5 separate regions of the Homo sapiens genome follow, and regions 2, 3, 4 and 5 are each linked to region 1. The links are contacts of gene promoters, found by promoter capture Hi-C in blood cells and fetal thymus (Javierre and others, 2016). All regions are on one chromosome and are shown on one strand. Each heading gives the region's core, a stretch centred on a gene start or on the middle of the fragment in contact. The rest is flanking DNA. Distances are from core to core; before and after follow the strand shown.

What was found. Contacts are between HindIII fragments. The CHiCAGO score rates a contact against its expected background, and 5 or more counts as called.
Region 2: a contact is called between a fragment that was not itself captured here and the fragment with the promoter of UFM1 in region 1, in 2 of 17 cell types (total CD4 T cells and total B cells). The highest score is 9.1, in total CD4 T cells.
Region 3: the fragment with the promoter of TSC22D1 here is called in contact with the fragment with the promoter of UFM1 in region 1 in 5 of 17 cell types (naive CD8 T cells, total CD4 T cells, naive CD4 T cells and 2 more); the score reaches 8.7 in naive CD8 T cells.
Region 4: a contact is called between a fragment that was not itself captured here and the fragment with the promoter of UFM1 in region 1, in 2 of 17 cell types (naive CD8 T cells and non-activated CD4 T cells). The highest score is 5.3, in naive CD8 T cells.
Region 5: a fragment that was not itself captured here is called in contact with the fragment with the promoter of UFM1 in region 1 in 1 of 17 cell types (total CD4 T cells); the score reaches 8.8 in total CD4 T cells.

What each region holds. Positions count from the first base shown.
Region 1 is chr13:38,348,378-38,353,583 of GRCh38, forward strand. It overlaps UFM1 (ubiquitin fold modifier 1), which reads left to right and starts at 1,474. Exons shown (of 6, transcript NM_016617.4): 1 at 1,474-1,544; 2 at 1,622-1,678. The coding sequence starts at 1,543. RefSeq lists silencers at 1,004-1,113, 1,811-2,025 and an enhancer at 1,224-1,433. The HindIII fragment of the contact is 2,541 bases long and covers 1,052-3,592 here.
Region 2 is chr13:44,911,758-44,917,029 of GRCh38, forward strand. The region is part of intron 1 of LOC107984619 (a long non-coding RNA gene); the gene reads right to left. Among named protein-coding and RNA genes, the nearest start is that of TRE-TTC2-1, 3.6 kb to the right of the region's middle. The HindIII fragment of the contact is 1,285 bases long and covers 2,752-4,036 here.
Region 3 is chr13:44,574,453-44,579,260 of GRCh38, forward strand. It overlaps TSC22D1 (TSC22 domain family member 1), which reads right to left and starts at 1,878. Exons shown (of 3, transcript NM_183422.4): 1 at 1-1,878. The coding sequence starts at 1,622. TSC22D1-AS1 (TSC22D1 antisense RNA 1) reads left to right here and starts at 1,444. Exons shown (of 3, transcript NR_038381.1): 1 at 1,444-1,818; 2 at 2,590-2,725; 3 at 3,650-4,808. RefSeq lists an enhancer at 1,351-1,590 and silencers at 1,911-2,620, 2,631-2,870, 3,141-3,340, 3,521-3,570. The HindIII fragment of the contact is 6,017 bases long and covers 1-4,418 here.
Region 4 is chr13:43,873,742-43,879,065 of GRCh38, forward strand. It overlaps CCDC122 (coiled-coil domain containing 122), which reads right to left. Exons shown (of 7, transcript NM_144974.5): 2 at 1,101-1,186. Among named protein-coding and RNA genes, the nearest start is that of CCDC122, 3.3 kb to the right of the region's middle. The HindIII fragment of the contact is 1,103 bases long and covers 1,394-2,496 here.
Region 5 is chr13:44,275,105-44,280,515 of GRCh38, forward strand. No RefSeq gene overlaps it. Among named protein-coding and RNA genes, the nearest start is that of MIR8079, 82 kb to the left of the region's middle. The HindIII fragment of the contact is 5,130 bases long and covers 1-4,319 here.

The DNA.
Region 1 (5,206 bases), core at 224-2,723:
ACACTCATCTCTTTCATTATTATTTGGCTAGCTGACAATAGGTAGACACAATCACAGTTTTATCCTTATTACTATTCTCACAAGTTTTAGTCACACCCACTAATTGAATAGTTTCAGCTATTAAGGCTGTAACTGTTGATCCCTGTATCTGTCAATCAATATTTGGCTTCATCTACATATATGGTAAGACCATTATTTTAAAAAGTGAGGATGGCTGTCATGAGAATGTTGGAGTCTTACTTGCCTACTCAGAACCAGAACTCTCTCCACTGGGAAATGTCACCATAGAAGATCAGTTGGCTGCAAAATTATTGTAAAGATGAATTTGATCTCCATTATCCCTACTACAGTTCCTTCCTGGTTCCTCTCTTAAGTATCTCTCCTTAAGAATCTGATGCATATTCTAAAGATCAACTAGATTGCCCCATTATTTTAATGCCTACCTGCTTCCTCCTTTGTCTATTCATGCTAATGTTTTAAAAGGGCATTTCAGTCATTGTGAGACAGACGCATATTTTCCAAACACAGAGGTTTAGATCTGTAATAAAGTTTAGAGGACAATTTTCTTCCGTCATCACTACACAGGATGTTAGATCCTAGAGAGTTGACGCCTACCTGCCTTACTCATCTTGGATTCCCCAGAGTTTAGCTTAGCGCCGGGCAAATAGAAAGGGTTCAAAGTTGGTTGTTAAATTGAATAAATGTGGTCAGTGATTAGCAACTCAGCGCACTGGTTTAATTAGACCATATAACAAATTACTGAAATCTCCTGTTCATAGATGTGTCTTCCCAACTAGACGCCACGTTCCCCAAACGTAGAAACCTCATTTTTTCTCACCCACCCCAGCGGGAGTCTTGGCATAGATAATTCGTACTTGATAGCTCTCTTACTTAACCGAAATTCAATAGTTATAAATCAGTATCGGAAAGTAAAGCGTGAAGGAGAAACTATGAGAAATGTAAAGGATATAACAGGATTGGTTTGCTGGAAAGACGGAAGAAAACTAATGATAAAGCAGTGTTACAATTCCTGCTTCTGGAGCACCAATTAAGCTTTTCCGCGCTCAGGTTGCCTTAGAAACTTTAGAGCGCGTCCGCCCCAGCCCCGCCCCCGGCCTCGCCCCGAGCTTCGCCCCAAGTCCATCTCGCTCTTCATCCGACTACCCCATACCCTTACTTCCGCCCCAACCTGCCAACTGGAACCTAGGGTCCTACGCTCTATGCCCACGCTTATTCTGCCTGACTAAAAATATGGTAGCAAATTACCAAAGTTAGAAAGATATCTTATAAATATAATCCATACTTTTTTCTTAGATATATAAACGCAAAAGCACAAGATATTTGTAATTTAAAAGCGCCATCTAGCATGAGCTCTTAGGGCCAATTTTCAGGCAGTGCGTTGGATAGCAACAACTTCGGAGGTCCCCAGATTGCAGAGGGAGACGTGGACGTGAGTGGAGCGGGGCGGTCCCCAGCACACTAGAGGAAGTCGTGCTACCCCCGCGGAGTTGTCGTGTGTTCTGGATTCATTCCGGCACCACCATGTAAGTGTTTGCTTACCGACTGCCATAATTCCTGGTCCAGCTGCCCGACCCTGACTCTCTCCCGCTCTTTTCCTCAGGTCGAAGGTTTCCTTTAAGATCACGCTGACGTCGGACCCACGGCTGCCGTACAAAGTGTGAGTAGCTCGGCCGAGATGGGCCTTTTGGGGCCGGACAAGACGGGGCTGGGTTGGGGATGATCCGAGCTTTTCCAACAACTACCCCACGCAGTCTTCATCTCTTCACTTCATCTACTTTCCTGGCTCGCGCCCTTCCAGGAGCCTTTCCCACCGGAGCCTGCGAGGAGAGGTCCGTACTTGCTCGCTAAGTGTCAGCTTGGCAGCTTGGCCCCGTCACGAGGGTGTGGGTGTGTTTCTGATTAGTGACCTCCCCTCGGAATTCATTTGGTGGGCAGGTGGCGCGGGAGGACAGGTGGACCAGGTTCTGGTAATTTGTTGGGATTCTTAAACAGTCCCCATCTGCTGGATATTAGAAAAGCGTTTCACCGCTTTGGCCAGCTGGTTGAGGAAGTTAAGGAAGACATTCCATCTTGATAGTCAAGACTTTGAAATTACTTGAACATTTGTTATTCCGCGGCTTCTGAGTTTCGTTGTGTATGAGTAACTCAGCAGTCGGGCATCACAAAGTAATGAGACTCAGATCACACCCTTCCTATGCTGGGATTTAATAGAGTATTTGGTAGGAATGGGAAATGCAGATAGGGGATAGTTTATCCATGTGGGGCCTTTACTTATCCTTCGCAGTTGAGTGATAGATTTTAAGTAAACACTCTTGAGGTTATTGCAGTTGGAAGTAGCATGAAATGTAGCAAAGAACAGGATTACAATAGAATTTTTTGCATAATTAATTAGTACCTTGGCCTACCTAGCTGACTGATAAATTTCAATGATTTACCAATCCATGATCCGTACAACCTCTCAGCCTTTTCCTCCCTTGATCTTTTCATCTCCAAAATATCCCTGTTACACTTTATCTCAGGTGTTCATGGTTGCAGCCTAGAACCTTAAGATTCCAATAATTGCTCCATCTCTGAGATGTCGTTTACAGGCACTCTTATGGATAAATACATTCTCTCCTACATGATTTACTATAATTTCTCATCTACAACGTTTCATTTAATCCATTAATCACAGTGATTTTTTATCTGTAGCTATCCCCACTTCTATTCCTTACCTTACTCCTTATATAGTTAAGAGTCCATTGGTCCACCTTTAAATCATTCTCATGCAAACACCCTCAACTCTGGTGGCCCTGTCTCTCCTCTCAGCATATTTTGGTTAGTGAAACACCAACTCTGAAACCAGCTGTTTGTATTATCTGTACATAGCTGACTGCCCCTGGAGAAAATAACAGACTGGAGGGTTTACATTAAATTCATGACTACAATTAATAGTACCTAGTACTTAATACATTCTTCAAGTTTGCTCATTTTCCTCCTTATTCTCAGAAAAGATTGTTTAAAAATTTCAAACTTTCCACAGCTGCTGTCTCCCTTGCTATCAAGCCATCAGAGGGAAATTCTATCATCTTTACACCAATGTAAACCTACCACTACATGGATAAATCCGTTAATTTCCCATCCTGTTAGAATGGAAAAAATGACTTCACTCCTATGAAAAACCACTTGAGCTATAGTTCCCATCTATTTCAGTCTTGTCAAGGTTAAAGTAGATGGAGTCCAGTGCCCCCTCTCTCCTCATGATTGGTTTTTCCCTTTCTACTGGATTATTCTCATCAATATGCAAATGTACTCGAAAGAGAGCGTGAGAAGGAAGGAAGAAAATGATAGAGTAGGACAATAACATTAAGAGCCTGGAACATTGTACCAGTTCAGTTAATATGTGGTGACTGAATGAATTTAGTAGGTACAACTGTTGTTTAGTATGTATGTGTGCGTGTGTAGTTGTGTGTGTATGTGTATAAGGATGTGTGTGTGGAAAATTCACATAACGTGTAAATGTGTGTACAAGGGTATCTGTGCTATATTTTCTTTTCAAAGTACATGGTAACTAGTACTTGGGTACTTGACAAGCTTGCCCTTTTAATCTTTGCTTCCTTTACACATGTTCTTTTCTGTGCTTAGAATGCAGTCTCATGATCACAACATATTTTATAGTAATAAAAATCTCACCTCTATGAAGTTTGTTTTTTTTTCTTTCTTTCTTTTTTTTTTTTTTTTTGTGAAACAAAGTCTCGCTCTGTTGCCCAGGTTGGAGTGCAGTGGCACGATCTTGGCTCACTGCAACGCCCGCCTTCCCAGTTCTTCTCCTTCCTCAGCCTCCCAAATAGCTGGGACCACAGGTGTGTGCCACCTTGCCCAGCTAATTTTTTGTATTTTTAGTAGAGACGGGGTGTCACTGTGTTAGCCAGGATGGTTTCCATCTCCTGACCTCGTGATCTGCCCACCTCGGCCTCCCAAAGTTCTGGGATTATAGGCGTGAGCCACCCCTTCTGGCCAAAGATTTTTCTAATTGTCCACAGAGTTAATCTCGCCCTTCTTGAGTTACCTGTGGACTTAGTCTTTATAATAATTCTTACCAATTTATGTTATTATTTTGTTTATATATTTATTTAAAAAACAAATGATGCCAGTAATTTACTTCAAAAATTCTCATTAATGTAAATTTATTCAAAACACTGGGATAATTTAAGTACCGATTTTATGAAATGACTGGCAAATACAACTTTAAATCTAGATAAGATCTGTGGAGTCACTGTAACTCTCATTTTTTCTAATTTTCTGCCAGTTAGAACTTGCATTAAAAGATGTTTTCATTTTTGATTTGTTTTTATTGGCTTGTCTGTGGACACTCACCAACTTAATATACAGATAGAAACTTATTTTAATGAGCATCAGTATGACATCTAGGTATATTGTAAGGACATTTCCAAGTCTCCGATTTAAAAGTGAATTGAACTCCAAGGGTTTAGAAGTTCTCCAATTGATGCAGAGTTTTAGGAAAATGAATCTCAGATTCTTAACTACATATACACTGCAAAAATACTTTGTAAAATACTGTTGCCTAGTTTGTAAACTATGACATTGCCAGTTCGTTAGTTTTTAAACAAATGGCTATCCTTTATATGTTTTTATTTTTTTCCACCCCCCAAAAACATTAGTAAAGAAAGGGTAAAAATGATACCCATTTTCATCCTTTAATAGTATTTTGGAGTTGTGGAATGAGGGCAGCCAAGAAATCTATTCACATTTCTATTACTGAAAACTGGTACCATATGCTGTTCCTGTTATAATGATTCTTATAGTCAGAGATCTGTAGACTGAGTGAGGAGCCTGGGCATATACATGAGAATAATGGTAGCTGGTATTGAGACACTTAAGAACAATACAATAATATGGTGGACAAATAGAGAAGTTTCAGTGAGAAATGTTAGCTTGTAAGTCTCCTCTGCTTTGAAAGATTGTTTTCTGTTTTCACTCATTGTAATTTATGTTACCTTAGGGATCTTATTTTTTAAAAGAAGTTTTAAAAACCTCTTACTGTGTCTTAAAGTGTTTTCTTAAGGTATAAAGTAAATTTCTGTTTTGATTTTTTTTATTGGAAAGTTCATACAGATTGACCCTGGGACTAAGTCATTAAGAAAAAAAAAATATATTTATTCATGATCTTTAAAATACTTGCCGT
Region 2 (5,272 bases), core at 2,144-4,643, 6.6 Mb after region 1:
GAAACTGTGCCCTCAAATATTGCAGATTTGCTAAATCTGGGCAAATAGCCTTAAAGCAAAGCATACTGTGATCTGGGTTAGTCCACAAGGAAAACTTTATTTTAGGACAAAATTGCCAAATTCTGAAAATGAGGGTTCTGGAATCCATCTCAAGAGACCTCTTAAAACAGTCTCATCTTCCTTCCAAGGTGTGGTTTGTGCTGACCACAGCAGAGCACCAGCCAGAAGGCCCTAGAGTCCAGAAGGTCCTCATCCAGGGGGTGGACCTCTCTCCACCCCTAAACCTCCAGAGCTTTCCCATCACATTTAGAATGAAATCCAACCCTCTTACCCTTTTTGTGTGTTTGTGCGTGTGCTATTTCCCACTACAGTGTAAATCTAGATAACTGCCAGCACATACTAGACACACTGTAAATGTTTGCTGAATACATGAATAGCCCAAATATAAAGAATATAGAAATGCTTATTTTTGCCAGCAAGATTTCATCTCTGGCTTAATTTTTTCTTAATTGAGATATAATTCAGATTCCATACAATTCAGTCTTTTACAATTCAGGGCTTTTTAGTATGTTTACAAAGTTGTGCAACCTTGTAAATATGGTAAATCACCACTCTTTATGTTAAACTACCACTATTTTAATTTCTCTGGCTTAACTTTAATACCAGTTCATCCTTCCTCTCTACCTTGTGGTTCTAATAGGAGCTGCCAATCATAATACCCCATATTCATCAACCCTAGGCAGGGCCCAGGGCCTAGGCGAGGTCACATTCCCCCAGCACTTTCCAACAGAAACTAAGAAAGACCTTCCTTCTCGGGTGGGGAAGCTGGGAGGAATGAGTACTGAGCCAGAGTGCCCAGATCCCTTGCCATGTGGAAGCAGTTGGTCCATGATAGCTAAGAATAAATCTGACACACAGAGAGAAAACACTGATTCTGATTGTCCCCAAGGCCAGCCATCCCATTCTACTTCACACAGTTTGGTTACATTAGCCAACAATCCTCCCCTAGTGGAGTTCCAATGGCTTTCTGTAACTTGAAACTTAAGGTATTCCAATCAATAAAGTCCTTGTCCTGCTCACACATCCTTCAACACATGCTTATTAAGTGTTTACTGTGTGCACGGCACTGGCCTTGGAGAGTAAAATCTAGCAGGGCCACAACAAGTGTGGTAAATGCAATGAGAGGGAAATGTGCAGAGAAAGCATCTCACCCACAGTCAGGGCAGAAATGACATCTAAGCTAGGACCTAACTTTAGAAAGGAGTAAGTATAGGAAGAGAAGTACACAAGATGCCATGGGAATCAGAAGCAACCAGCATCCACAGGAGAGGTAAGGGAAGCTATAGGAACCATGTGATGTTCGAATTGAGCCTTAAAGGATGGATAAGATGTAGATATTTAGAGAAAGGGCATAAGAGCGTCTCAAGTAGAAGAAAAATTGAGTAAAGGCCAGATACAGGAAACAGTGTGAAATTAACAGGAATCTAGGATACATGGAGGGAAGAGGTAGGAATTAGGCTGCAAAGGCAGATTGGGAGCACTCAGCAAGACAAAGCTCTTCGGGTTTAGGGCAGGGAAGCAGCATGTTCAGCTCTGCGCTGTAACAGCCAGGAGAATGCAAGATAGAGAAGATGGGCAAGATGGGGTCAGGGAAACCAGTGTGGTGCCTATTGCAATAGTCCAGAGAACAAGATGATTTAAACCAGCAGAGTGGCCAGGGAAGTAGATAAGAATATATGTGAGCATAACTGAAGAGGTAGAAATAAGATTTAATAAAATAATAAAATAAATAAATAGTAAAATAAAATAAGCTTTAATTAGACGTGGTGCGAGTGGAGGAGAAAGAGGGACTAAACATGCCAATGATGACAATGATGATGATGGTGATGATGATGACGGTGATGGCCTTAAACTGGGCTAAGCCTTTTATGCGCATTATGTCATTTAATCTTCACAACCCTATGAAGTAGGTCCCATTCTTATCCCCACGTTAGATTCTAGAAAACTGAGGAACAGAGAGATTAAGTAACTCAAACAAGGAGATCTTGGATGACACTAAAAAATAAGTAATCCAAGTAGAAAAGGACTTGGGAAGGAGAAAGAGGTCACTTTTGCACATACTGTGTTGAAGTTGCCTATTTGCATAAAGCTGAGCCCCCAACTTCAGTTTGACTGTATCCCTATGAAACAGGAATAGTCTTACCTACATTTTCTTTCTTTCTTTCTTTCTTTTTTTTTTTTTTTTTTTTTTTTTTTTGAAACAGAGTCTGGCTCTGTCTCCCAGGCTGGAGTGCAGTGGTGCGATTTCGGCTCACTACAACCTCTACCTTCCAGGCTGAAGCCATTCTCCCATCTCAGCCTCCTGAGTAGCTGGGACTACAGGCGTGCACCACCAGCTATTTTTTTGTGTTTTTTGTAGAGACGAGGGGCAGGAGGAAGCGATTTGTGTTTTTTGTAGAGACGGGCGGCGGGGAGGGGTAGAAGACGGTGCCGGGGTTGGGAGGGTGTCTCGCTTTTTTGCCCAAGCTGGCCTGGAACTCTTGAGCTCAAGCTATCCACCCACCTCGGCCTCCCAGAGTGCTAGGATTACAGACATGAGCCACCATGCCGGCCATACCTACATTTTCTTAATGAGTACACAACAAGTTGCAAAATCCCAAGCTTTCTTAAATCAGGATAGATTATGTTGATTGCTCCCCCATCTACCATGGCTGTCACTCTGCGACAAAAGGAAATTAGATTCATCTGATAAGCTTTGTTTTTCACAAAGTAATGTGGGATGATTACCCAGTGCCCTGTGGTCTTCTAGAAGTTTGCAAATTGATTTTTTGATTATTTGTTCCAGTGATTTTCCAAGTAGTCAGTGTTTTTCCAAGTTATTCAGCTTTACAGTGTGGGTGAGTTAAAATTCATATTTGCTTTCATATTAATATATGAAGTGTTAATGTAATTATTTAGGATATTTTTGCATGCGGCATCAGATATACTCTGAGGGAACATACATATGAATCTGCATGACTATAAATACACTTGTTGAGGGGCACAAAGCAATTTTCATGTGGAATCCATCAGAGTTTATGACTATATGCAAAAATGAAAGCATACAGGAACACATGGTTAGTTCAAATACCCCAAACAGGTTAAGCTCATCACTTTCTAGAAATGATTATATATGATGAATTTTTTTAAAAAAAAACTTCACGTAGAAAAATTACTACTATGTTTATGCAGCTATGCTGTGAACACTGACCAAAAATACAAGAGAATATTTTTTTGGCCAGGCACGGTGGCTCACGCCTGTAATCTCAGCACTTTGGGAGGCTGAGGCAGGCGGATCACTTGGGGTCAGGAATTCAAGATCAGCCTGGCCAACATGGTGAAATCCCATCTCTACTAAAAACATAAAACTTAGCTGGGTGCGGTGGCGCACACCTAAAATCCCAGCTAGTCAGGAGGCTGAGACCCGAGAATCGTTCCAACCCAGGAGTCAGAAATTGCAGTGAGCTGAGATCGCGCCACTGCACTCCAGTCTGGGTGACAGAGGGAGACCTTATCTCAAAATAAATAAATAAATAAATAAATAAATAAATAAATAAATAAATAAAAATAATTGAATCTTCTCTGCACTCAATCCCCCTAAGCCCCGCTCCTTGACGCCAGGATTTGGAGAGAGTGGTGTCTGGCTAGAGCACCAGACAGGAATTCAATCTTTTGTGGATACAATCTAAAGTCCAATACTAGGGAATCAGAGAAATAAAATCTCAGAATAGATGTTTCCCGGGTAAAACGAGGGTCTAAGTTAAACGACTGCTAAGGGCCTTTCCAGCTCAAATAGTCTATGAATCTAAAGACTATGAGGATGATGAATGGAAGTTATGGCAAAATGTTTTACAAAAAGGGAAAGCCATAAAAATGCCAAATATAACTGAAGTAACCATCTCCCCACAAAGTGAAACCCTTTCATATCATTAAGTACCTGTCTTCAGAAATATCTACTATGCTCTGAGTCCACCAAATATTACAGCCATCTCAAGAAAGCTTCTGTCAAATCCATGAGGTCAAAACTCTATTTTATGAAAATGAATGATTAATAGGATGAGTAGACATGACAGCCTTCATATAAATGGAATTCACCTGCCATCTGAAAGCAGTTTTGTCTTGCTTTTTGGAGACAGGATCTCACTAGCCCAGAATGGAGTGCAGCAGCAATCATAGCTCACTGCAGCCTCGAACTCCTGGCCTCAAGCGATCCTCCCACCTCAGCCTCTTGAGCAGCTAGGACTACAGGCACGCACCACTGCCTGGCAAATTTTTTTTTTTTTTTTATTTTTTTATTTTTGAGACGGTGTCTCCTTACGCTGTGCAGGCTGGTCTTGGTCTCCAATTCCTGCTCGAGTGATACTCCCACCTCGGCCTCACAAAGTGTTGGGATTATAGCCATGAGCCACTGCCCCTGGCCTAAAAACAAGTTTAAAACAAACAAAAACTACACAGCTTCTGCCTGGCAGCCCCCGGCATCAGCTATCCTCCCTGGCCTTGCCCCTTAGGCTCAGGAGCTGTGAGAGCTGCATTACCCCTTCTTGTTTCCCTAAACCCTAAGAAAAACTTAAATAATCCTTGATTAAGCACTCTGCTAAGAATATATCACGAGTTTCCTACAGGGCCGCGATTGATACAGGGATAATAATATCATCTGAGAGTAAAATAATCTAAAATAATAATCAAAAAATAAAAATAGGCCCGGTGCGGTGGCTCACGCCTGTAATCCCAGCACTTTGGGAAGCCGAGGTGGGTGGATCACCTGAGGTCAGGAGTTCTAGACCAGCCTGACCAACATGGGGAAACCCCATCTCTATTAAAAATACAAGATTAGCTGGGCATGGTGGTGGGCCCCTGTAACCCCAGCTACTCGGGAGGCTGAGGCAGCAGACTCGCCGGAATCCGGGAGGCAGAGGTTGCAGTGAGCCGAGATCGTGCCATTGCACTCCAGCCTGGGGGACAAGAGCGAGATCATGCCTGTAATCCCAGCACTTTGGGAGGCCAAGGCAGGGGGATCACGAGGTCAGGAGATCGAGACCATCCTGGCTAACACGGTGAAACCCCGTCTCTACTAAAAAATACAAGAAATGAGCCGGGCGTGGTGGCGGGCGCCTGTAGTCCCAGCTACTCGGGAGGCTGAGGCAGGAGAATGGCGTGAACCCGGGAGGCGGAGCTTGCAGTGAGCCGAGATCGCGCCACTGCACTGCAGCCCGTGCGACATAACTAGACTCCG
Region 3 (4,808 bases), core at 628-3,127, 6.2 Mb after region 1:
TGAGAAATACTCTGTGGTATACTAACTGCTGGAATACTCTGTGGACCAGTGCTACCAAAATCCATCTGTTGGAGGGTCACACCTTGGAGAGCTGGTTGTTGCTGTTGTTGTTGTTGTTGCTGCTGCTGCTGCTGCACCACCACAGTAGGGGCTCCCATCTCTCCACTTCCCACACTCTCTGTATAGTGACTCAGTGTGCTGACACTACTGCTCACTGAACTCCCACTAGTGCTCTCCCTTTCAGAAGTCACTTCTATCGGATTTTGCTTTACAGTCTCCACCACTTTATTTATCAGCACACCTTCTGTAGCAGGTACAGCATTTTCTTTTTCATAGAACTCAGTGCAAGTCCATCTACCTTTTTTAAAGGGCTCAGAACTAGAATCTAACTTCACAACTCTGAACCTCGAAGTGTTAACTGTTGGTTGTTGCTGCTGACTTGAAACCGATCCCCCAGTCATCCCTGCAGCTGCATTAGGAACACTGCTAACAGCAGCAGAGGAAGAAATAGTACCATTGCCCATGCCACTCAAGATATTCACATTAACACCACTGGTAACTCCAGGCCCAACACTCACACCAGCAGCACTAGGAATATTGCTTGTACTTATATTAACATTACCAAGCATGCTGCTTGTCACATTAGGATTAAAACTACCCACAGCAGTAATGTTAACATTATTTACTGTACTAGTGCCAGTAACAGAATTTATACCTATTCCACCTGTAGTACTTGGAGCACGCATATTAGTCATTACAGATGCAGGTGAACCACTGGATGATACAGCAGAAGTTGGTGCAACTGGTGTGATACTGTCAGAGCTTCCAGTTGTAGAGAGTTTTCTAGATACTGGGCTTGAGGGTGGCCCACCAGTAATGGATGCACTGGCCACAGCAACATGAGATGGATGGTGGTGACCATGTTGGAGGTGGTGCCCATGATGAATCTGATGGTGGTGATGGAGGTGGTGTGGATGAGCATTCCCATTGATCACAACATTCTGTTGTGGAAGGTGAGGCAAATGAGGCTGAGGAAGGTGGGGCTGGTTGGGAGAGACTGCCCCAGGTGTCTCGGCTTCCTGGAAGTTATTTAGGGTCTCTTCTGAGGAGCTGCGTTCGGGCTCCCCTAAGTCAGTAGCCCTGGAAAGTGACACATCAAGGATCTCCGAAGAAGAGAGATCTTCCGTGTGAGATTCATCCAGATCATCATAGCTCTCAGTGTCCTCTGCTATACTGTTGTTAGAGCTGATACTAGCGGAGATCTGAGCAGGAGTAACGCTAGTTATCTGGAAGCCACTTTTCTTTTTCATTTGAGTTCCGCCTGGCGCAAGAGGCTGTGCCTGCAGCTGAGCCTGCGAAAGGAGGTTCAGGCTTTGTGGAGGCGGAGGCTGTGGTCCCGACGTAGAAGATGCTGCAGGGGGCGGCGGCTGAAGCAGCGACGGAGGCGGAAAATCCTCGGAAGATGTGGCATTACTACCGACGCCGGTACCTGCTGCATTGAGAGCAGAGGCGCTGCCACTACCGCTGCCCCTTCGAGGGAACATTGCCGGGTGCGCCATCTTCCTAGCGCTAATGTCTGCAGCGGCGGCGGCCGCGGCGGTGGACTCAGGCGGCTGGTGCATTGTGTTGGGTACCGGGGGCGCGGAGGAGACGAGTGCAATTTCCTTCTGCACCGTAATCTTTGTATTGGAGACGCCGGAGAGGAAAACGGGACCTGACGCTCCGCCTGGCGCGATTCCTCCTTCTCCTCCTCCTCAGCCAAAGGCGCCGGTCGCTCCTGCCTTCGAGAGCGAGCTTCGGAAAGGAGGATGAACGAGGGTGAACAGGGCGGCCGGGGACCCGAAGGGGGGATCCCTTCAGTCCTTCGCCATTCACTTTCCCCTCTAGCCTCACACCCCCCTTTATATTCTGCTTCACGTGGGGTGCGGGGCAGGAGGGAGGGGGAGAGCGCAGGAAGGGGAGGAAAAGCGAGAAATGCCCACCTTCTCCGGCCAACTCCGAAGCCGCCTCAGCCCCCTCCTCCCGCCGCGTCGGCGGCCGCTGCAAAGCCCTCCCGGCCGCTCTGCACGGAGGCAGCGCCAAGCAAATGTCGCCTTCCCCTCGCCACCCCCGGGGCCGCCGCCGCCGCCAGCGAGCCCCGAGCTCAGTGTCGCTCAAACCTCCCCTCCCGGCCCCGCTCGGCCCTCCCCCCGCGCCCCGCAGACCCTTTCAAACCCCCTGGGCTCGCGGCGGCTGCTCGGTGAGGAAACGCTGGCCGCGGCTGGGGCCGGGGCGACGCGGCTGCGAGCGGGGCGGCGGCGAGGCGCCCGGTACGGTGAGCCCAGCAACGAGGCGCGGGCGGGCGCGCAGAGACGCCGGGTCCTCGCGGAGCACGGCCGGGGCGCGGCGGCGGCGGTGGCAGCGGGAGCCCAGGGACCGCTCCATCACTGGCAGCCATGGAGCCCGAGCATTTTCCTCCCTCAGGGCAGGCGCCTCGACTCGGCACACGTCCTCGGGGAGGAAGGGGCCGGCACCCGAGCCTCTCCGGAGGGCGGCGGGACGTGCGCTAGGGCGGAGGGTGCGACCCTCTCTTATCCTCTTCCTCCGCAGCCGGCTCTTCCTCACCCCGCTGCTCCCGCGACCGGGCGGGAGAGGGCCGCAGGCGGCGGCGGCTCCTTTCTCCGCGGCGTTGGTGGCCAGACGGGCTGGTGCAGCGACTGCAGCCGACGCCGTTCAAAGGAACGAGGTGGGGTTGGTCGGTGTCGGCAAACGGGGCGGGGGAGTGAGTGGGTGCCGAGGGAGGGTGTCGGGCGGGGAGGGGGCTGTGGTGGTTGTTACTAGTGCTCTTCTTCGGCTCCCCCGGCTCCACCGTATCCCCCAGTCTCTCGCGGCATCGGGAGGGGAGGGACCAGCGCGGAGCGCAGGAGGAGGAGGGGCGACCGCCGGCGAGAGGAGGCGGTGGTGGCTGGGGGGAGGGGGCAGGCGGAGGAGGAGGAGGGAAGATGGCGTCTGCGCATGCGCCTCGGCGCCGCAGACATAAAGCCGGGTCTGGCGGGGCAGGAGGCGGCGGGTCTTCGGGCCTAGGCGAGCGCCAGGTCTCCCGACGGAAATTACCGAAGGCTGGCAGAGGCGCCGAAGCCGGGAGTGGTGGAGCCGGAGGGGATAGTGGGGGTGGGGAATTCCGGCCGAAGGAGCGAATCCGGGTCGGACTGCGTGATTCGGCCCGGTGGGGGCGGGCAGGGTGCGCGCCTGCCGCGCGCCCAGGTTAGGTGTGTCCGCTCTTTTCACACTCGCGGCCGGCGCGCGCGGGCACGCGGCAGAGGAGGGGGCGCGGCGCGGAAGGGCCGGCGGAGGCGGCGGGAGCGCCGGCGCTTGGTGTGCGCGCCTTGGGTGGTGTCCCCCGCCTGCGGAATGGGTAATGAGGCTTTTCTCCGCAGCAACAGCATCACGAGTTTCAGTTCCCAGGAGCCCGCCGCCGCGGCTGCTGCCGCTGCCACGACATGAGTCAGGCTTTCTTCCCTGGCGCGTGGCGGAAACCTCCTCCCCCTCGCCGCACCTGGGCTCGCCCCCGGCCCTTGCCTCCTCGGGGGATGCCCTAGGGCCGGGAGCTGTGGGGTCTATGGAAGGCCGGTGGCTCCCGGTGATAGGTGTTGTCTTTTGTGCAGTGCAGTTGCTGCCATGCGGTCCCCTCGCCCTTCCACGGGCAGGGGCGAGGCGGCCGGGCAGATGTTGCAGCTGTTTCCAGTTAACTGCCTGAGCTCCTCTGGGCTAGGCTCTTCTCTAACGAGGAGTGGTTGCAATCCATCCTTAACTGGAGGACAGAAGCAGGCCGGCCCTGTAATCGACTGACCTCAACAGGTGTCTCCAAGCAGCGACGCCTTTTTCGTTCATCGTCCTGGCTATATCCCCCATTGGTTTGACTCAGGAGGCAAGGTGGTCCGGACATGTGAGCAACACAAATGATAAGAATGCCTTTTAGGGCTAGAAAAGAAAAAGCCATCCGAAATTCCAGTTTTAAAATACACACACACACACACGTTACATTTCATGGGTCCAAATGTAGTTCTACAGAAGCAATGTTAGGTTTGATTGGGGGCAATTTACTGGCGGTTACTTTCTTGGTATTTCATGTCAAAACCTAGTTCTAAGCGTTTCTTACCAATAATCGAGAATGTAAGTCTTTCCCAGGAATTTAAAAATGATAAAGCAAGCCGAAAAACTGTAGGGAGGAATTTTCATTTTGTTAAATTTAGGTTGTTAGGGGAATCAACGCTTATGGTTAGACCTCTGATTCAGGAAGTCTCAAGGATTTACATTCCTATTTCAGAAGATTGTTAAAGCAAAAACGATTGTCATTTGCAGTTTTGATACACCTCTAGTTGTCAGTTCAACTTTTTACCTTTAGTTTTCTCTGAACTCTTCCCCTTGTTCCAAGGGGAAGCTTTCAAAAAGTGAATTATGTCACCATTTGCATGTTATTGAATAGAAGTGCACTCTTAACATCCCATTTATCCAGTGTCAAAGCTATGATACATTGTTGCTTTATGTGGGGTCTCCCACACTGAAAAGAAAAACCCGGACTTCATTTATTTATTTATTTATTTATTTATTTATTTATTACTTTATATTGCTAATGTAAACCTCTGCTAGAAGTAAATAGGCTCTCGCAAATATTCAAAGTGATACAGTAATAAACATCAAATATGTTTGAGAAGACTACTTGTTCTATGATATTAATATGTGATTGGTTGTTTTTATAGAACTATGGCTATTTGTGTTTTCACAAAAATAATTTCTTTTTTACTTTTTGAGCTTTTGTTGCAAGTAAT
Region 4 (5,324 bases), core at 695-3,194, 5.5 Mb after region 1:
TTCCAAATACTATCTTAGTAGAGAAGCCTTCCCTGATAACTCTCTTTCACCCTTGCCCTGCCTCATTTTTCTTGACAGCATCTATTACCACCGACATCTCATACACGTCTTTTCCATATCCTTCTACTAATGTAAGCTCCATGATGGCAGATGTCTAGAAGTGCCTGGCATATAACAGGTGTCTAATTATAGTCTATCTCCACTCCAGTTTGCCCTTTTCTAACAGAATAATGCTCCAAAAGCACTATTCTGATCACGTCAACATCACAGCCAATCTTTCAATTCCATTTAGATGGCATTTTCTTTAGGAGGTCTTTCTCGATCTTTCTGGGAAGATATGGTCTTTCTCTTTTTAGAAGAATTGTTTCAGTATTTCTATTATACCATTTTAGATAAAGGTATAGGTCTAGAGTAAGACAGAGCTAGTTTTAAATCTAGATTGCACTACTTATTAGCTTATTAGGAAAATTATTTCCAACCTGGGCCACAGATTCCTTACTTATAAAATGGGAACAATATTAGTGCCTGCTTCATTAGGGTTATTGTGAAGACTAAATGAAATAATGCATGTAAAGCATTTAGCAAATTCCTGTCACACAATGAATAATCAACATATTTTTATTTTTATTATTTTCATTATTTTATAGTATCTTTCCCCATTAGAGTGTAAGCACCGGGAAGACAAATACAGTGTTTTATTTATTTTTGTATTCCTTAAAGTATTTGATAAAGTAACCTAAAGAATAAAGAAAATTGGATTTATACAATAAAAATAAAGTAACTAGTACTTCTTGATCTCTATTTCTATAGCAACATAAATTGAAGAACTCTTGGATAATATTTATTTAAACCAAATATTCATAAAATTCATGCTGTAAAATTGGAAAAGTTTTAGTTTTTTTTCCCCAGACTTCTGTTGTGCAATGAAAAGAAAAATGAAAACAAACTACTGCCATCTACCGATAATTCATTAGAATTGCATAAATTAAGGAAACAGGCTTTAGAGACAACTCTTTTCAAACATGTTTTTAAGAGAAGTTAGAACATCATCAGAGACATCCAAAAAGAATTAATTGAATAATTAAAAATAAACTGTATACCTATTATACACCAGTACCGCTGAATCTGCTGACACTAGGGATTACTTCCTTTTCTGGCCAGGCAATGAGATTAGAGTTTCAGGGCACTGAAAAAGAAAGAAAACAGAGGGTTTGTACTGTTCCTTACCTCCTTATCCAAGATAATAATAGGCAACATTCATACATTATCCACACTGCTTCTAGGTTTCTACCAAAGGAGGGGCTTTGCTGAATGTATAGACAGTACTGGACTACCAAAACATCTCTTGTTTTGGAGTGTAGACATTAAGGGGTTGGTCTGCAGCTCAAATCCAAGCTTTAAAGGATGTCCAGGCAACTGTTTCGAAAAGATTTCTACCTCTGGGACAGAAGTTATATAGACCTTTGGTGAAATCCAGTTATAACCTACCTGCTTGTCTCATTCAGAGAGGCAAGGGGCAAGGTCTTTTATTTCCTCCCCCTCTAAACAAGTAAACATGATTTCCAAACCAAGAGGAACTTTATAGTGGGTTAAATAGTGCCCTCCCGCACATCCAAAGATATATCCACGTCCTAACTCCCAGAACATGTAAATGTGACCTTATTTTGAAAAAGGAGTTTTGCAGATTTAACTGGGTTAAAGATCTTGAGATGAGATCATCCTGGATTTAGGGTAGGTGACTGAATATGCAAATGGACAATGGCCAGACCATATGTAAAAACAGAACTCTGACCCACAACCTGCAGCAAGCAACCCAGGAGACTAACCCATTATCTACAGTAACCAGTCCAGGAAGTCTATAAATTAGACTTGTAGAAAGTTAAATCATTATCTCTAATAACAATCCTAGGAGACAAACTATAACAATTGTCCCAAATGACCAGTACTGGATTAATAACTGGCATCTTCCCTAACTTTTGTCCCCATTTCCAAGTTGAGACTAACAAAAAGAAGCCATAGAATGCTCCACTTCTAGTTAGCCTGCCTGCAGCTTCCTCATGCTGAGAGCCTCTAATCAGGGCATGCCCACTCCTCTGCCTGCCTTCAACTTTGCTAAAATGCAGGAGATTGTGGCTCCCTCCCTTACAAGGCCTGAATAAATAGCTTTTGCTTGTTCTCATTTGATTGATCTTCATTTATTTCTACACAAGAATCCTTATAAGAGAAAGGTAGAGGGCTACTTGAGACTCAGACCCACATGGAATAAGACCATTTGACGATGGAGGCATGGAGCTTGAAGTCACTTAGCCCCTAGGCAAAGAACACCTGAAGTCACCAGACAACAGAAGAGGTAAGTGAACCACCAAAATGTGCAAGGTGCTGTCAACACCTCAGTTTCATCATCTGGCCTCCGTAACTGTGAGAGAACAAGTTTTTGTTGTTTTTAGTCACCCAGTTAGTGCCAATTTGTTATGCTAGCCCTAGGAAACTAACAGAAGCTTTTAGCAAGGAAATTTGCATCTGCTACATGGCTTTTTCTGGAAAGATCCATAAACCTTAGTGTAAATGGCTTAAAAACAACTGTTTTGTTCTTTAAAATTATACTTGTTCTCATGAGAAGATTTACATAGCATTATAAAAATGTCTGGTGAGTTCTTCAATAGTTCCCTTAATAGCCAGGCACTATCTCTGCCCTCAAAACACTCTAGGCAGAAAGACACACAGTCAATTAAAATGGAGAGGCGCAGCAGCTTATGTCTAAGCCTATCTACACATAACCTCTAACCACTTAACTCACTCTATTACCTTTGTAAGTCATAAGTGACTAATTCCCATATCATGCTAGGAAACTGTTAACTAGTAAATCTGCCTATTTCTGCTCCTATCAATTGACTAGTTCAATCTTATGACTTACTTGTGTTTGTTTGCAAACCTGTTTTTGCCAGTTGTGCTTGATATTGTGCTTTCGTAACTTAATATTGTATAAACCAATGAAATAGTGTGGAAATTGTTGTTTCTTTAAAAATCTATGTTTAATATTTTGGAAAGACCCAACAAAAGTATGTGAGATTAACTGTAAAAGATTATAAAATATAGCGGTGGCTCATGCCTGTAATCCCAGCACTTTGGGAGGCTGAGGCAGGCAGATCAAGAGAGGTCAGGAGTTCGAGACCATCCTGGCCAACATGGTGAAACCCCGTCTCTACTAAAAATACAAAAATTAGCCGGGCGTGGTGGTGCACGCCTGTAATCCTAGCTACTTGGGAGGCTAAGGCAGGAGAATCACTTGAACCCTGTGGAGGCTGCAGTGAGCCGAGATCGCACCACTGTACTACAGCCTGGCGACAGAGCGAGACTTCATCTCAAAAAAGAAAAAAATTACAAAGTATAAATCTGCCCTCAGATTGCTTCACAGGTGCCTTTAAGTTATTTTCCCCTTAAAAGAACAAAATCTTGGGAAATCTTAGCTGATGGTTTATGGGTACGGTTTATGCAAGAGATAGTATGCAGAATTCCAATCAGTAGACTACATGCAAAGAAAAGGTCTTGGATCTTCTCAATAGATGGGCAAATGAACACACAGTTGTTTTAGGTTAGAATACAGTTTAAGGTATTTGTTATATTTTTTCATGATTCTGTGGTTTAACTGACCTTTTTTCTTATAAAAAAAGCCTTTTTTAGATATAATTTACATACCACAAAGTACATCCTTATAAAGTGTACAATTCAATATTTAACCATTTTTTCCACTTATTTCTTGGCTAGGGGCCCAGACTACATCTATGAGAGGGCTTCTTCATATGAACAAAATGTAAAGAAGCTATTAATTTTGCTTGATGAGGGATGGGGATTCAGGGAAGATTATGTTTGAGCTTGAAGAGCCTTGAACAAAAAGTAGCAGTTAGGCATATAAAAAGGAGGGTATTTTGCTAAGTAGAGGAACTGCAAATGTAAAGAATGAAATCATGTGGCCTCCAAAGAACAGCTTTTATTTGAGTGGCTTGGGAATAGGGTGTTTTTATTTTTTCAAACTTAATTATGCATCTAACTCATACATAGAGGTTAAAACAAAACAAAAAAGCAAAGCAAAACATGCTCAGGCCTAACTCCTAGAGATTCTGATTCAATGTATATTTGGGATAGAGTCTCTACATTAATTATTTTTTTTTTCAGTTGCACTTGCAGTTCTGATTTGCAGCCAAGACTGAGAACCACTGGAGTAGGATAGAGTGAAAATGGGATGAGGAAGTGTTAGGACATGACACTAGGACCAGATGGTGAAAGGAAATGGTATGCAAATACAATATAACAAACTCTCTTCCCTGACAACTTCATTCTTTTGAAATATTTTCTTTTTCATTTTTTTTTTACTGCCACTACTTTTGCATGAAAGAATACGAATCCCACCATTGTAAAAACAGAGATAAATGTTTAAAACCTTTGTAACTAAAAGACCTCTGTTTTGCTTGAGGTATTAAGCTGGTGCAAAAGTAATTGTGGTCTTTGTCAATGGCAAAAACCGCAATTACCTTTGCACCAATCTAATGATATTTAACATAAACAAACTCAGGGCAGAGTGCACCTTCTGATTGGGTGTACCATCTACCGCTCGGGGCTCTTTAACAAATGACCAAAGAAAACATGAATTTTGACATAACTGGTGCTAGGGTTATTGAAGGGTGGGTTTCCATTCTGGGTTAGTGCTCCCAGTCTCTAGTCAAGCACAAGAACATGCCTACCCCAGAGGGCTCTTCCAAATTCCCAGCTATCTGAGATTATGAGACAAAGGTTCTTTAGCGCCTACCAAATGAGCAACAATGAAGATAAAAGGGACCTCTCCTTCCATCATAACCAGTTCCCCAGGAAGCACCATTTCTCTTACTCTTGGAAGGTCGGATATTTTTTCCCTTTACCATACACTGGCCTTCCATGTCCTAACTGCTATTTTCAAATAAATGAACGTTATATTCTTGGAGGACAGATCAGGGATGCTAAACTGCACCTTTATCATGATTTTAGGGATGAGCGCCTTTTACTTAAGTCCTGCTAGTGGCACATATTTTAAAAGGCCATAGAGGACATCCGTGTTGTCAACACAAGTGAAGGCGCTCGGAAGAGTGTTGGTCAGCAAGAATCAGCACAAAGACATTGGAGGAGAGACAACAGCTTGTTTCTGGAAACAAATGAACAACAAAAAAACACTAAAACATCTCGAGGGGGCCCCTGACTTGAGCCCTGCATGGGAAAAGCTGCCAAGAGCTAGCATGACAAGGGACTGGCCCTGGGCTGCGGTGAGGAAACCCAGCGTCCTGACCACACTGCTG
Region 5 (5,411 bases), core at 505-3,004, 5.9 Mb after region 1:
TAACCCACTTATGAAAACAGTACCGGGCATGGCTATATCACTTATCAGCTCATCAAGTTTGTTCTGGAGGGGAAGCAGTTTTGTGTGGCCCCACTATCAGGCACCAGCCTCATAAAGAAGCAAGCAGCACAAATCCTAAATTCTGTGGTGTTTAATGGAGGCCATGTCAACACAACAGCGGGAAAGAGAGGGACTCTCTACCAACCGGTATACTAAGACATAATCTAGAGGCCAAAGGACTCCAGATAAATTACCCATTGCCCAAAACAAAAGGAAGTCTTTTGATAAGAGAAATATTTACACCTGGGGAGTAAGCCATGGTCCCAGGAAGAAAATGTCTTAAAATGAACTTTGCATCTATTTAGTTTTGCATTTTCAGTCCCCAAATACCCCATCACTGTTTTCCTGTTTTCTTTTTCTCTCCCATGAGCTCACTATCCCTTTGCAAATTTAGGGGAAATAGGACTGCTGTTGACTCTGCAGCTGCAAAAAAAAAAAAAAAAAAACTTGCTAAGTGGAAGAAACCATTTAAAAAGGGCCACATACTGTATGATTCCATCTACATGTTACATATTTATAGCTGTCCCTCAGTTCTTGGATTTTCTGGTCTAATTTTTTCCATCTTTTTCTTTCCAGTTTGGAAGTTTCTGTTGAGATATCCTCAAGCAATTCTTTCCTCAGCCTTATCTAGTCTACCAATGAGCCCATCAAAGACATTTGTTATTTCTGTTGAAGTGTTTTTGAAGCATTTTCTCTTGTTTCTTGGAATTCCCATCTCCTGGGTTACATTGCCTTATCTGTTCTTGCTCTCTGTCTACTTATCCAGTAGAGTCAAATATTAATCATATTTGTTTTAAATTCCTGATCTAATAATTCCAACATCTCTGCCACATGTGAGTCTGGTTCTGAGGCTTGCTCTGGCTCTTCAAACTGTGTTTTTTTCAGTTTTAGTATGCCTGGTAATATTTTTTTTTTAACTTAATTTTCTTGATAGCTGGGTATGATATACTGGGTAAAAGGAACTGCTGTAAACAGGCCTTTAATAATGTGGTGGCGAGGTGTGGGGAGGGGAAGTAATCTGTAGTCCTATAATTAGGTCTTAATTTAGTGAGCCTCTGCCTGCGAACTGTGAACTTCACAGGTGTTCTCAGCCCAGCCCCCTTTAGGCGGGACAAGATGGCTACAGTGGGCTGGAGTTGGGTGTTTCCCATCCTCTAAGTCAGTTAGGGTCTGATAAACCCCAATAGTTTATGCTCTGGTAAAACAGTTTCTCCTGAGTGCAGACCTTGTTAAGAACAGAATGTTCTGTTGTATTTTAAAATGGTTCCTTTTCCCAATCTCCTGCTGAATGAATGAGAAGATTTTTCTCTGATAGTCACTGTGAGAACCTGGTTGAGCCCCAGAAGTTAAAACTCACAGAAGTATGCAGAACCCCTATGACCCAGTCGTCCTGGAGTTTTTCACTCTGAGACTTGTCCATACTGAGCCGCCAGCAATTTGTTGGTTATAGTTCCAGTTTTAACTACTTCAGCGCTGTTCCCTGTGGAGGGTTCTTCTCCTGGTTTCAGCTTCTGTAAGTTGTGATTCTCCGTGTCTACCTGTCTGCCTCTACAATTTAGAGGACAGCAGTTTGCCCTGTGATCTCAATTCTCTGATGGATCTAAAGAGTTGTGGATGTTTCCGTTTGTTCAGCTTTTTATTCCTTAGGATGGAGTGGTGACTTCCAAACTCCTTACATGCCTAACCAGAAACTGTAAGTCCCAATTCCATCTCTAAGAAATGTCCAGAATAGGTAAATCCACAGAGACAAAAAAAAATTTGGTTGTTTAGGGCTGGAAGGATAGGAGGTTGAGGGATAATAGCTAAAGGGTACAAGGTTTCTTCTGGAAGTGATAAAAATATAATAAAATTTATTATGATGATGGTTGCCCAACTTTGTGAATATAAATCCATCAAATTGTACACTTTAAATGGGTAAAATGTATGGTATGTGAATTATAATGCTGAACAAAGGAAGGAAGAAAGAAAGGAAAAGACGGAGGGAAAGGAAGAAAGAGAGATGGAAGGGAAGGAAAGAAGGGGAAGGGAAAGAGGGAGGGAAAGGAAGAAAGAGAGAAGGAAGGGAAGGGAAGAAGGGGTAGGGAAGGGGAAGGAAAAGGAAGGGAAGAGGAGGAGAGGCGAGAGGAGGGAAAGGGGAGGGAGGGGAAGGGAGGGTAACGGAAGGGAAGGGGAGAGGAGGGGAAAGGGAGGGGAAGGGAAGGGAGGGGAAGGGATGGAAAGGGAGGAAAGGGAGGAAAGGGGAAGGAAGTGAAGGGGAGAGGAGGGGAAAGGGAGGGGAAGGGAAGGGAGGGGAAGGGAAGGGAGGGGAAGGGAGGGGAAGGGAGGGAAGGGGAGGAAAGGGGAAGGAAGTGAAGGGGAGGGAAGGGGAGGGAAGTGAAGGGGAGGGAAGGGAAAGGGAAGGGAGGGAAGAGGAAAGAAGGGGAGAGGAGGGGAGGGGAGGGGAAAGGAAATGGGGAAGCAAAGCACCATAGCCCAAAGATAGAAGGAGTGGTATACAGTTGTGTCTGCATGGCCTGAAGTCTCTGAGCCTCTTCAGGATCTTCAGCCTCCTTCCCTCTAGTGTGAGATTCCACCACCCTCCCCCTCCCATAACATACACATACACGCACCAAAACCTTTGTTCCAGGCATCTCAAACAATTTGTATTTCCACCCAAACTCTATGCAGTTCCATTCCTCTGAGCTTTTACACAAACTCTTCTCTCTACCTTGAATGCCTACCCTACCCCATTTCCTACCAAGAGAATTCTCACTCAACTTTCAAGACCCAGTTTAAATGTCACACCCTTCAGGATGTCTATCCCTACCTCCTCAGATAGTTAGGGGGCTCCTCCTCGTCACCTGCAGAAGGCTTTACTGTACAGTATGTCACCATATGAGAAGGTAGAACATCTGTCACAATGCACTTAGGCCTATTTAGATGCATATCATCCCCAACAATACCACAGGCTCATGAAGGACAAATGCTGTATTTTATTCATCTTGGTGTTGAAAAAACTTGGAACTGTGGCTGTCGTATAAAAGATATCTAGTAAATATTTGCCAAATGAACAAATAGCAGACAGGCATCATGCCTCTGTGACACAGGTCATGGAAAGTTAACAGAAATTGTTCCTGTTTGCAGAAATATTTGCAAGTAGAAACATCAATGGTTTCACAAAATGTCTGTGTACCCAAGTTTCTGCCCCAAATCGGAAGCCATTTCAACTTGGCTCCTGCACAGGATGTGACTTCCTGCCCAGAGAGCTCCAAAGGCCCCTCGTGCTGCTTGGGCAGGATCCAAATCTCAACAGAGAATGCAACACGAAAGGCAGAGTATATATGTTACAGAGAGACAAACAGCAGATGTGCAGAGCAAGCCTTGGGGTCATGAGCAAAATAGGAAGACAGCAGTTTGCAGCATGTTTTCTAGGGATGCCAAACTCCGTAGAAACTACTGATCAGAATTGTGTTTGAAGTTAAATATGAGCATTTCCTGATGTCAAGTCTAGAAGTTTCTGTACACAAAACAAGCATCCTGCATGAAAGAGTCTGTCAACCCTAGCTCTGACCAGAAGGGACAAGGAGAGTATGAAGCACAGAAGATGATCCACCAAGCCTGGGAGAAGAGGCTAAGAAGTTGAGGAGTGCCAGTTTCTCCATGAACAGGAACAGGAGCTATTATTTATTTTTGCATATTTTTATGAATTTATGTTGAAGACAATGGGTAGAATTCCTGAATGTAGTTCCTGTCATTTGCAATAAGTCATTTTTTTGGGCCTTGTAAAGTCCAAAAGTAAAGATCTCCTCCAGGTCAGATCAAATATAGATAGAGCCTGTTGACCCCCCTGTGATGGTTAGGGCTTCTCACACTGAAAGCTGTGGGAGCTATAAAGAGAAAAAAGGCATCCCTGACCTTCAGTGTTAATGTGAATTAACCTTACTATACTGCTACTTAAAAATATACCAACATAAATCTGGGTATAAACTCTTCATGCTGACAGCTCTGATATAACTTGAAAAGTAACACAAACTCACAAATTAAATGAAAAACAAACCTTCAAAGGTCAATAAAATTCAAATCAACCACATTAAGCTAATAACACCAGTAATGTTATTTTGTTGAAACTAATTTGCAACACACATACCATGCTGACATTGTTAAGATGTTGGCATTTTTGAGTGTGGCATGCCTATGCTACCCCGTGCTGTGGGATGACTCAATTCTCCCACCACTTTCCTCAGTTTAATTTGGTGCTACACCTCCCTCCATTCATGCCAAGCTTCAAGATGTCACTTGCCCTTCATTGGAGGGAATACAACCATACATGTGAGCACTGAAATTGTACCTGCATACTAGCGATAACTTGGTCACCCCGTTGCTTCAATTATTGCATTAAATATATAATTTTAAGTCATATTTATAAGGTTAAGCTAAAATAAGATTATAAAATTTGCATCGAGATTCTGTGGATCCCAGTTTGAGAAACATGCTGTTAGACCAGCCATCACCCCTGAGAGCATTCCCCTATCTCTTTAACCAGTTTAATCAACGTTTGTGCCAAAGGAAAGAAAAACTCACCCCAGGACAATGCCAGTATTTAAAACACAGAGATAGATACTTTCACAACGGGTTGTCCTCTGTAAGTCATAGATGGAGGGAAGAATTCCCAGGAAGGCGAAGGTCAGAAGAAGACCCAACTCCCTCCTCAATAAGCCCTCCCCAGGGCAACTGATCTTCCTGGCTTGAAACCCCCTCACCTGATCCCGCTCTGGCTGGCCATGTGTGGCTGTGTCTCCAGGAAGTCCAAGCTACCAGTTAACAAAGCTCTGTCAATCCGTGAATTGTTTTACCAAGGGCTTGTTTTGCCTTATTTTGTGTTTTTGTTTTTTAATAGTGGTAAAATACACATAACATAAAATTGACCATCTTAATCATTTTTCACTCTTCATTTCCCCCTCCATCGTGGCAACCACCATACTTATTTTTGTCTCGATGAATTTGACTACTCTAGGTGCCTCATATACGTGAAATCATGTGGTATTTGTCCTTTTATGACTGGCTTATTTCCTTTAGCATAGTGTCCTCATGGTTAATCCAAATAATAGCATGTCAGACTTCCTTCTTTTTGAAAACTGAATAATATTACGTTGTATGTATACAACTTATTTTGCTTATCCATTCATTGATTGATGAACATGTGGGCTGCTTCTACCTTTTGGTTATTGTGTATAAAGCTGCTATGAACATGAATGTACCTTATTTTGTTTTTCACTGAATTGGCTGGTTCTTTTGGTTCTACCATATTAACACCTGCATTTTCCAGATTTCCCATCTCCATTTAAGCCTGGAAAGATGTGCCTTTAGGATCT